3 separate regions of the Homo sapiens genome follow, and all the other regions are linked to region 2. The links are contacts of gene promoters, found by promoter capture Hi-C in human tissues and cell types (Jung and others, 2019). All regions are on one chromosome and are shown on one strand. Each heading gives the region's core, a stretch centred on a gene start or on the middle of the fragment in contact. The rest is flanking DNA. Distances are from core to core; before and after follow the strand shown.

What was found. Contacts are between HindIII fragments. The study calls those that stand out against the background at their distance.
Region 1: a contact is called between a fragment that was not itself captured here and the fragment with the promoter of ZC3H4 in region 2, in 1 of the 25 tissues and cell types used here (dorsolateral prefrontal cortex).
Region 3: a fragment that was not itself captured here is called in contact with the fragment with the promoter of ZC3H4 in region 2 in 1 of the 25 tissues and cell types used here (hippocampus).

What each region holds. Positions count from the first base shown.
Region 1 is chr19:46,883,920-46,887,072 of GRCh38, reverse strand. The region is part of intron 1 of ARHGAP35 (Rho GTPase activating protein 35); the gene reads right to left. Among named protein-coding and RNA genes, the nearest start is that of ARHGAP35, 24 kb to the right of the region's middle. The HindIII fragment of the contact is 4,791 bases long and covers 1-3,153 here.
Region 2 is chr19:47,112,407-47,115,486 of GRCh38, reverse strand. ZC3H4 (zinc finger CCCH-type containing 4) reads left to right here and starts at 1,711. Exons shown (of 15, transcript NM_015168.2): 1 at 1,711-1,767; 2 at 2,898-3,063. The coding sequence starts at 2,903. RefSeq lists enhancers at 1,569-1,798, 2,039-2,198, 2,078-2,805, 2,806-3,080 and silencers at 2,609-2,698, 2,949-3,080. The HindIII fragment of the contact is 19,933 bases long and covers 1-3,080 here.
Region 3 is chr19:46,921,656-46,924,978 of GRCh38, reverse strand. ARHGAP35 (Rho GTPase activating protein 35) reads right to left here. Exons shown (of 7, transcript NM_004491.5): 2 at 2,623-3,323. Among named protein-coding and RNA genes, the nearest start is that of ARHGAP35, 62 kb to the right of the region's middle. The HindIII fragment of the contact is 4,223 bases long and covers 1-3,323 here.

The sequences.
Region 1 (3,153 bases), core at 101-2,600, 230 kb after region 2:
CACATGCATACATACACCCACACCAGTTACAAAATGAACCTGGCCTAAGATGCTGCTTCCACTATCAAAGAGAAAAGAAACTCAAAATTCAAGCAGACATGTTTCTGCTTTTTCAGTTTTGCTAGTAGTAAATCCTTTTTAATCTCTCTCTCTTTAAAGATCCCAACCAACCCAAGAAGTCAAGACAAAATCACCTGAACACTCAATCCATCCTTAAAATTCTAGCAAAATCATCTGGGATTTGGGAAGGGAGAAAACAGTGATTCATCCTCTTTCCCACATTTTCACTAAGGATTCTTAAGCATTAGGATAGAAATTCAATCATATCGCAACAATCATTATAAAGACACTTTTACCAGTATTAGTCATACTTCTTTCTGTTACATTTATAACCTGCATTCTAAGCCTCCTCCATCTCCTAAAACTCCCAAATCTACAACAACCTTGAGTAACGCCCGATCCCTAGAATCAAGGGTGAATCACTGTAATGATAATAAAAACTGGCAATTTATCCTACAGTTAAAAAATACAACTATTAACAACGGTTTTCCCTGGGAGGAAGACTTTAAGGAATACTTTAACTTTCCTTGTATTTCAGCTAGTGAAAGCATTTAACAAATACATAAAGAGCACAGCCCTATGTCAGAATTAGAAGTAGGAAAAAAAGAAAAGAAAAAAAAAACCTCCCTTACGGAGCATAGTCTAGATCTGCACTACTTTGGCCATTTAAAGTTAAACTAATAATAATAAAAATTTTAAATTTAGTTTCTCAGCCCCACTAGCTACATTTCAAGTAGCAACACGTGACTGGTGGTTACCATAATGAATAACACAGAAAGTTATATTAGACAAGGCTGATGTAAAAGAAGACCTGATGCTAATTCAACCTTGGAAACAGAGAGGAGGCATTTGAAATGAGCAGCATTAAGGCAAGCACTCCAGGACGGACGACGACAACATAAACCACTGGCCTCCCTGCAGCATCATGCAGTACCCAATCTCCAAGGCTCTTCCCCGAAGTCAAAAGCAAAATACTTCAAGGAGGCATTAGAGAAATGAAATGGGTGACAGGCTTTGATTGTACTTTAAGATAAGCTTAATACCCTAAAATTTAAAAATCACATTATAAAAATCTATTTATAGCTGGGTGCAGTGGCACACACTTGTAGCCCCAGCTACTCAGGAGCCTGAGGCGGGAGGATTGCTTGAGCCTGGGAATTCGAGTCCAGCCTGGGCAACATAGTGAGAACTCATCTCTAAAAAGGTAAAAATTAAAAAAATTAAGATTAAAAAAATCCAATTAGGACCTCACTAAAAATAAAAAGGTGGAGGGGAAAATGGAACTGGAATTAACTGCTAGATCATTCTGGAAATCTTTAACAAGTAAGCTAAACTAGAGATCAAGAAGACAAACCAAAGAATGTACTATGCCCATCCAAATACCTTCCCGTGAGAGAAACATTTCCCAATGATCAAGGTTAGTATATGAAATCACCGGCATTAACCCCACATTAATAAAAACAAGTAGGGCCAGAGAGAGAGGAGGGAGGTGGGCAGAAGAGAGAGCACACAAACCCAGACCAGTACTTTCTAAGTGGGGGTAATTTATTATTCTCCTTCCTCTGAATCCTTAGCTTACATCACCTAGCATGCATGGCCTGTTTCCTATTCTGAGTAATGGGTACAAGGATAGTACCTACTTCATTGGGTTGTTATGTGGATTCCTTGAGTTAATACATGTAAAGTACATAATACAGTGCCTGGCATATAGAAAAGATTAAGGAAATATTTGCTATTATTATTGCAAGAGTCACAAACTATCTCTGAGGATCTGGTCTCACTTGTCCAAAAGTAAAATGATTTCCCTAAGGGTGAGTTCACAGGGGAATGAGATGTTGTGTTGACTATAAGAAGGGGCGCTTTTCAAAAGTCCAATCCATCCTAAGCTGAAACACCTTCCAATTATGTCCTATGGATTATTATTCATAATGCCCAAAGCCATGGGGACAGCTGAAAGAACTTCCGCAAGCTTTAGGATTTAGATATAGACCCCTGGGCCAGGCACAGTGGCTCAAGCCTATAATCCCAACACGTTGGGAGGTCAAGGCAGGAAGATCACTTGAGGCCAGGGGTTTGAGACCAGCCTGGGCAACATAGCAAGATCTCATGTCTACTAAAAATTTTAAAAAGTAGCCAGGCATGGTGGGTGCGCACCTGTAGTCTCAGCTGAGGCAGGAGGATCATTTGAGCCCAGAAAGTCGAGGCTGTAGCAAGCCATGATCATGCCACTGCACTCTAGCCCTTAAACCTGTAATCTTAGTACTTTGGGAGGCCTACGCGGGGGAATTGCTTGAGCCCAGGAGTTCAAGACCAGCTGGGGCAACATGGCAAAACTCCATCTCTACAAAAAAAATACAACATGGTGGCACATGCCTGTAGTCCTAGCTATTAGGGACACTGAGATGGATCATCTGAGCCCAGGAAGTCGAGGCTGCAGTGAGCTGTGAGCATGCCACTGCGCTCCAGTCTGGACAAGAGACCCTATCTCAAAAGGGGAAAAAAAAAAAAAAAAAAAAAAAGGATATCATCATTATTTTATAGATGAGAAAACTAAGGCCCCAAAAAGTTAAACAGCTGGCCTGTGGCAGTTTTCCTCAGTTTATGTTTAAAATGAGAATTATAAGTATATACCTACATATGTCCCTATAAGGCAGCTAGTTTCCTTGGGAAGGGATATCCTTTATTCTGAAGTTAGATCCTTTTTGTTGTTGTTGTTTTTGTTGCCCAGGCTGGAGTGTAGTTGGCACAATCATTGCTTACTGTAGCCTCCAACTCCTGGGCTCAAGTAATCCTCCTGCCTTCGCTTCCAAAAGTGTTGGGATTACAGATGTGAGCCACCATGGCCAGCCTAGATCCTACTTTTTATGAAATAATGGTGGGAATAATTTTTCTTTTTTAAATTCTCTCCTTGACAAAGCTAAAAACTAGTAAACTCGTATAGGCATACTATGTTTTTTTGAGATGGAGTCTTGCTCTGTCACCCAGGTTGGAGTGCACTGGCGCAATCTCGGCTCACTGCAACCTGCGCCTCCCAGATTCAAGAGATTCTCCCGCCTCAGCCTCCCGAGTAGGTAGGATTACAGGTATGCGCCA
Region 2 (3,080 bases), core at 462-2,961:
CCGGCCACCACGCTTGGCTAATTTTTTTTTTTTTTTTTTTTTTTTTTTGAGACGGAGTCTTGCTCTGTCATCCAGGCTGGAGTGCAGTGGTGCCATCTTGGCTCACTGCAACCTCCACCCCCTAGGTTCAAGCGATTCTTCTGCCTCAGTCTCCCAAGTAGCTGGGATTACAGGCGCGCCACACCATGCCTGGCTAATTTTTTGTCTTTTTAGTAGAGACGGGGTTTCGTCACGTTGGCCAGGCTGATCTCAAACTCCTGACCTCAAGTGATCCGCCAGCCTCGGCCTCCCAAAGTGTTGGGATTATGGGTGTGTGCCACCACGCCCCGCTGCCAGCTGGAACATTTAAAAAACAGTAGGATCCGCTGGGCGCGGTGGCTGACGCCCGTAATCCCAGCACTTTGAGAGGCCGAGGCGGGCGGATCACGAGGTCAGGAGATCAAGACCATCCTGGCTAACGCGGTGAAACGCCGTCTCTACTAAAAATACAAAAAATCAGCTGGGCGTGGTGGCGGGCGCCTGTAGTCCCAGCTACTTGGGAGGCTGAGGCAGGAGAATGGCGTGAACCCGGGAGGCGGAGCTTGCAGTGAGCCGAGATCCGCGCCACTGCACTCCAGCCTGGGCGACAGAGCGAGACTCTGCCTCAAAAAAAAAAAAAAAAAAGTAGGATCAATATACCAGGAAGTCACATGGTGCCTCTGTCTCCAGATTTATCACTGTTGACACGGTTTTTCTCTCTTCCTGGAATCTAAGTGGTCTTTGCTTTGTCAGGGCCTGAAATAAGGTATTTCTTTTCTTTTTTTTTTGAGACAAGAGTCTCACTCTGTTGCCCAGGCTGGAGTGCAGTGGCATAATCTCGGCTCACTGCAGCCTCGCGACCTCCCGGGATCGGGCGATTCTCCCTCTTCAACATCCCGAGCAGCTGGGACTACAGGTGTGAGCCATCATGTCCTGCTAATTTTTGTATTTTTAGTAGAGAAGGGGTTTTACCATGTTCGTCAGGCTGGTCTCCAACCCGAGCTCAAGCGATCCGCCCGCCCCGGCATCCCAAAGTGCTAGGATTACAGGCGTGAGCAACATCGCCCCGCCTGAAATAAGGTATTTCTTCTGCCTGGAACCATCTCTTCTTTTTCATGTACCAGCCTAAAAGAACAATTACAAGACCCTCCTCTAACACTCCACCCACCCCCTTTATTCTTTAACTCTGTTTCTCTCCCTTGGGGCATTATCGGTTAAGTTCCATGAAGACAGAAACTGTTCCCATGCTCCATCACAGGGACTGGCACTGTAGAAAGAGCTAACAAGTATTTAAGGAAGATCCCTGGATTCGAGGTTACAGTGAGGTATGATCGTGTCACAGCACTGCAGTCTGGGCGACAGAGCAAGACTCTGTCTCTTAAAAAAAAAATCTTGCTGTGCTTTTTAGAACTAATCCTATGACCGTGAACCGATTACTTAAAACACCGAACTTCAGTCTGCAAATGGGAATAGCAGCAGCTTATGTTAGGACGGTTATGAGGGTCAAAAGATTTTGTTTGTACAGTCTACGACACCGGCCAGTGTTTCTAGCTCTGCTATTTGAGAGCCTTCCATGGGTCCTACACCCCAGGTCCTTAAACTCCCCTGAGGGACTACCAAGCCCCGCCCCTCTCGCATCCAATGATGACATCATCGACTGGGTTGTCGAGTGACGTCACCTCCGGGCTGGCTGGGCTTCATCGCTTCTCCGGAAACCTCCGACTCTCGGCACCTGGCCTCCAGCTTTCGGTTATTTTTTTTTTCCCTCTCCGTAGCCTGAATTCCTTCCCTCCCATTCTCCCACCTAAAACTATTGGCTCTTCCCGCCTTCCTTCAAACTAGCAATTTTCGGTTTTTCCCTCTTGCTCTCCGGCGAATTCCTGAAAGTCGTTTATTCTCCCCTTCAGCCCCGCCCGTTCAGCTCATTCTCTTAATCGCATTACCCTGGCTGCTTTTCTTTCGGCTGTTTCCACCTCCTGCCACCCACCCGGACACCGCTTTCGGCTCTTTCCGGACCGTCTCAGTTTCTCCTCCTTCCCCGGTCCCGATCGGCTTAGGCTATTTATGGCTCCCCTAGGTTTCTCATGCTCTCTCTAGCCCCACCCATATCACCACCTTCAGCTCTTTCTGGCTCTCCCCCGTCGCCTCCTCGCTCCTGCTCAGCTCCTTTCGGCTATTTCCGCCTCCCCTCGGCCTCGCCCTTTGCCTTCGGCTCTTTCCGCCGGCCTTCGGGCAAGCGGTCTCTACCCCTCTCCTGCACGTGACACGGCCTCCGCCTCCGCCTCTCAGTTCCCCCTCCCATCTCACCCTTCCTCCCGCCTCAGCCTCTAGGCTGGTTCGGGCCGAGCCGCCATTTTGTGTCAATTCCTGATTGCGGCGGGGGCCGGGCAGCCGGGGCACCCAGGGCGGGCAGAGAAGGGAGACAGTCGGCCCGTCTCCGCGGCCCGTTCCCTCTCTCCCTCAAATCCTTTTTTTCTTTTTAACCCCCCACCCCCCTCGCTCGCTCTCCTCTTCTCCCCTTACCCTTCGCTTGCTCCATCGCGCGCGGCCCGCGCTAATTACACCCAACCACCCACCAGTGTCCGTGTCTCCCGGGTGTCCCGCCCCCCGGGGGTGCGTGGGGGGGGGGCTCTCGCCCCTATGAGGGCCCCGCGCCAGTGAGCGAGTGACCGCAAGGGTGGGCTGCGGAGAAAGCAGGCGGCGAGCGGCCCTCCGAGGCCTAGGCCGTGCGGCCTACGCGGAGGTCAGCGCAGAGGTGATTCCGAAACCGAAAAAATATATACCCCATTCCCATCAGGAGCCCTCCGAGCTTAAGTGTGCCCCTCCCGCCACGCCCAAGCAGTCCTTTTTCGTGCATTAACATCCCCTCCCCCCCAAAGGAACTATGGAGGCCGCGCCCGGGACCCCCCCGCCGCCGCCATCAGAGTCGCCGCCGCCGCCATCGCCGCCGCCGCCATCAACGCCTTCGCCTCCTCCGTGTTCCCCCGACGCCCGCCCGGCCACCCCGCACCTCCTCCACCACCGCCTCCCGCTCCCTGACGACAGGTCAGGCCCCCGGTTGG
Region 3 (3,323 bases), core at 54-2,553, 190 kb after region 2:
AGGCACACTGTGATCAGCTGTTTTCTGCTGAGCCTCCACTACAGTGTGTGCTCTTTAAAGCCTGGCTTGCATGGGAATGTGTTTTTAAAGCATCATTTTCAGTAAGTATTAAAAATGTAGCTAGAAGTCAGAATATAGTTATAATTCAGTATGCTATTATGCCACCTTCCTAATTTCCAGGTGTGCAAACACCCCCACAAATTAGAAGACTGTCAGCATTTTTAAGCTGTTCTGGCAACAGTCTTCATTGGGAGAGGAGGAGGAAGAGAAGAAATGTTCAAAATGTTTGGATTCCAGTATCATTAAATAGGTGAGCTCTGGGAAAATACCGGAGGCAAGTCAGGCCGTTTTCTGGCTTCCTAAATAAGCAATGCTTTCCACAGGGTGGCCTCCTACCAACCTTTGGAGGAGAAAACACTGGAGGCAGACAAAGGACTCCATGTAGAAAAGCCAGGCAAAGGAAAATCAGACAGGAGGATGCCTATGGCATTTATTAATAGTCAGCACAGGTGGGGAGGGATACAGAACCACTCTGCCCTTTCTCACACTGCACAGATGAGAAAACTCTGGAAGCTCCTGGTCAGCGGTAATGCAGGAACACTCTCTACTATGGGATGTAGCACAAAGTGGATGCAATTTCTGTGGGAGGGTGATGGCACCCTGTTCCTCCATCTCTCGGGGCCCGCAGGGCTGCCAAACTGGCCTCTGTATTACATTTTACAACAGAGTTGTCAGGATTGTCAGCTCTCAAGACAGCCTGGATTCTAGAACCTTCTGATTTGGTAGGATTTGTAATAATAAAAGTTTCTGGCAATCTTTCTTTCCAGAGGTCCCTGCAGTACTTTCAGACAAGTAACTCTGTTCTCTGTTCTTTCATGGGAGGGAGAGTAGCAAAAGCTTTAACGTGAAAAAATCCTTCTATATATCATAATCTGCTGGTGAAGGATTATTATATAACACAGTTCTGTTGTGGCATGTCACCAAAATGTCTTTTTCTGAAAAAATAAAGAGTATTTATATATATACACATTTTTTTTCCTTTTTCCTTTTTTTTTTTTGAGACAGAGTCTCCCTCTGTTGCCCAAGCTGGAATACAGTGTCGTGAACTTGGCTCACTGCAACCTCTGCCTCCCAGGTTCACGTGATTCTCCTGCCTCAGCCTCCTGAGTAGCTGGGACTATAGGCGCCTGCCACCACGCCCAGCTAATTTTTGTACTTTTTTAGTAGAGATAGGGTTTCACCATGTTGGCCAGGCTGGTCTCAAACTCCTGACCTCAAGAGATCCACCCGCCTCGGCCTCCAAAAGTGCTGGGATTACAGGCGTGAGCCACGGCGCCTGGCCTGTAAAGAGTATTTCAGTATTTCTAAATCAGCCTTGGCAATTGGGGGTGGGGGGGAAGAGTATTTCTCCCTACTCCAAATGGAAAAAAAAAAGAAAAAGAAAAAGTTGAGAAACGCTTTTTCTTTCTCAAAGCCTAAACCCAAGGGGACAGAGTACTGCTTACAGCTCTCTGCCCTGCAGACTACAAACTACAATTCTACGCAGGATAAGAGACTTCATCTGCAGCCGGGCGCGGTGGCTCACGCCTATAGTCCCAAAACTTTGGGAGACCAAGGCGGGCGGATCACGATGTCAGGAGATGGAGACCATCCTGGCTAACACGGTGAAACCCCGTCTCTACTAAAAAATAAAATAAAATAAAAAAATTAGCTGGGCACGGTGGCGGGCGCCTGTAGTCCCAGCTACTCAGCAGGCTGAGGCAGGAGAATGGCGTGAACCCAGGAGGCGGAGCTTGCAGTGAGCGGAGATCGCGCCACTGCACTCTAGCGTGGGTGACTGAGCGAGACTCCGTCTCAAAAAAAAAAAAAAAAAAAAGAGACTTCATTTGCTCCTGTCTCTACATATGACGAGTAGGCCCAATGTTTATAATGTATACAGTTAACTTTTTCTTTTCTCTCCCTGCACCATTTGTGATCCCTAAATAAAATCCGAGTTTCTGACTGATAGCAGCAGCAACTCCCTTGAAGATAAAATAATAGACTGGATGGTATTCCAATTTAACAAATACGGGACAGGTTTATAACTCTCAGTGGCAAGATTCTCTTTTTTCATTTATGTACTCAAAGACTCGTCACTGATTTGTGTGTGCAAATCATCATCCAATCCTTCACCAATCTCAAATGCAGCAACCTTTACAGATCAGCAAGGGAGGAAGGATCATTTAAGAGATGTATGGATGAAATGTTATGTTTAGCAGTGAGAGACTGCGGCAAGCAGTTTTGAGTTCTGGTGTTTCAGTGAAGGGAGAGCAAGTGTATTGTCACTGCGCTTGGCCACTTGTCAAGACACTGACAAGTTCTGCATTATCTCCTCATTTTGCTAATTAATTAACTATTGTTTTAGGCAACAACAACTCAGACTATCTATCCAAAGTCCTAACTACTTGAGAGCTGCCAATAATGGTAGCTAATTGAGGCACTGCTTTTTTATGTTAAGTCAAATACACACACAGGGCAGTTTTTTTTTTACCAGAATAGGTTGTCCTTGAAAAATCATCATCAATCAACCCTCACCGAGACGCTGTACAAAACACTATGACTAATCCTAGACTGGTGTCTTACCTTAGTGTTCCTCCTTAGGCTGCGAAGAATATTCCTCCTCCGCGGGTCTTCGTCTGTTTCGTATGGAATGACAGCATTGTCCCCTTTATAACCCTGGGATGCCTGATCCTCCTCTTTCTTCCGGATGGGCCCCAGCTCATCATCACTCCCCACGCTGAAGCTGGTCCGGTAACTAGCAAACCGCCCCAGCCGGGTGCATCTCGTCCTGTACAGCACTGGCTTGCTCACGATGGAAACCTTGCGCCCTCGCTCTAGAGAGCTGGTGTCCATTTCACTGTCAGAACCATTCCCGCTGCCGTTGGACTGGGCTTTGTTGATATTCCGAATGGTGATGATTTTGCCTTGGGTGCTGTCATGGGGCACGGAGTATATGTTTTCTTCTTCATTCCTTGGCTTCACCACAGCATCCATGGGTTCAGCATAGTCAGAAGGATCAAACCCATCCTGAGGCAGCCAGGGGCTAGAAGACACAGACTTCCTCTGTCCATCCCTATGGCCTTGGTCTAAATAAGATAGATCCCCCTTTGTAATTTCAAAATGGACAGGAGGCTTTGGTTTGACTGGCGGAGGTACTTTGTTGTTCAGTTTACTCTCAAAATTGCTCATAATGAAAGACAGCCCATCATTTCCCTCCAGTTCCATAGAGAGCTTAGAATGGTCTTTGGACAGAGAAGGCAGTGATGTGTCTTCTCGAAACAGGC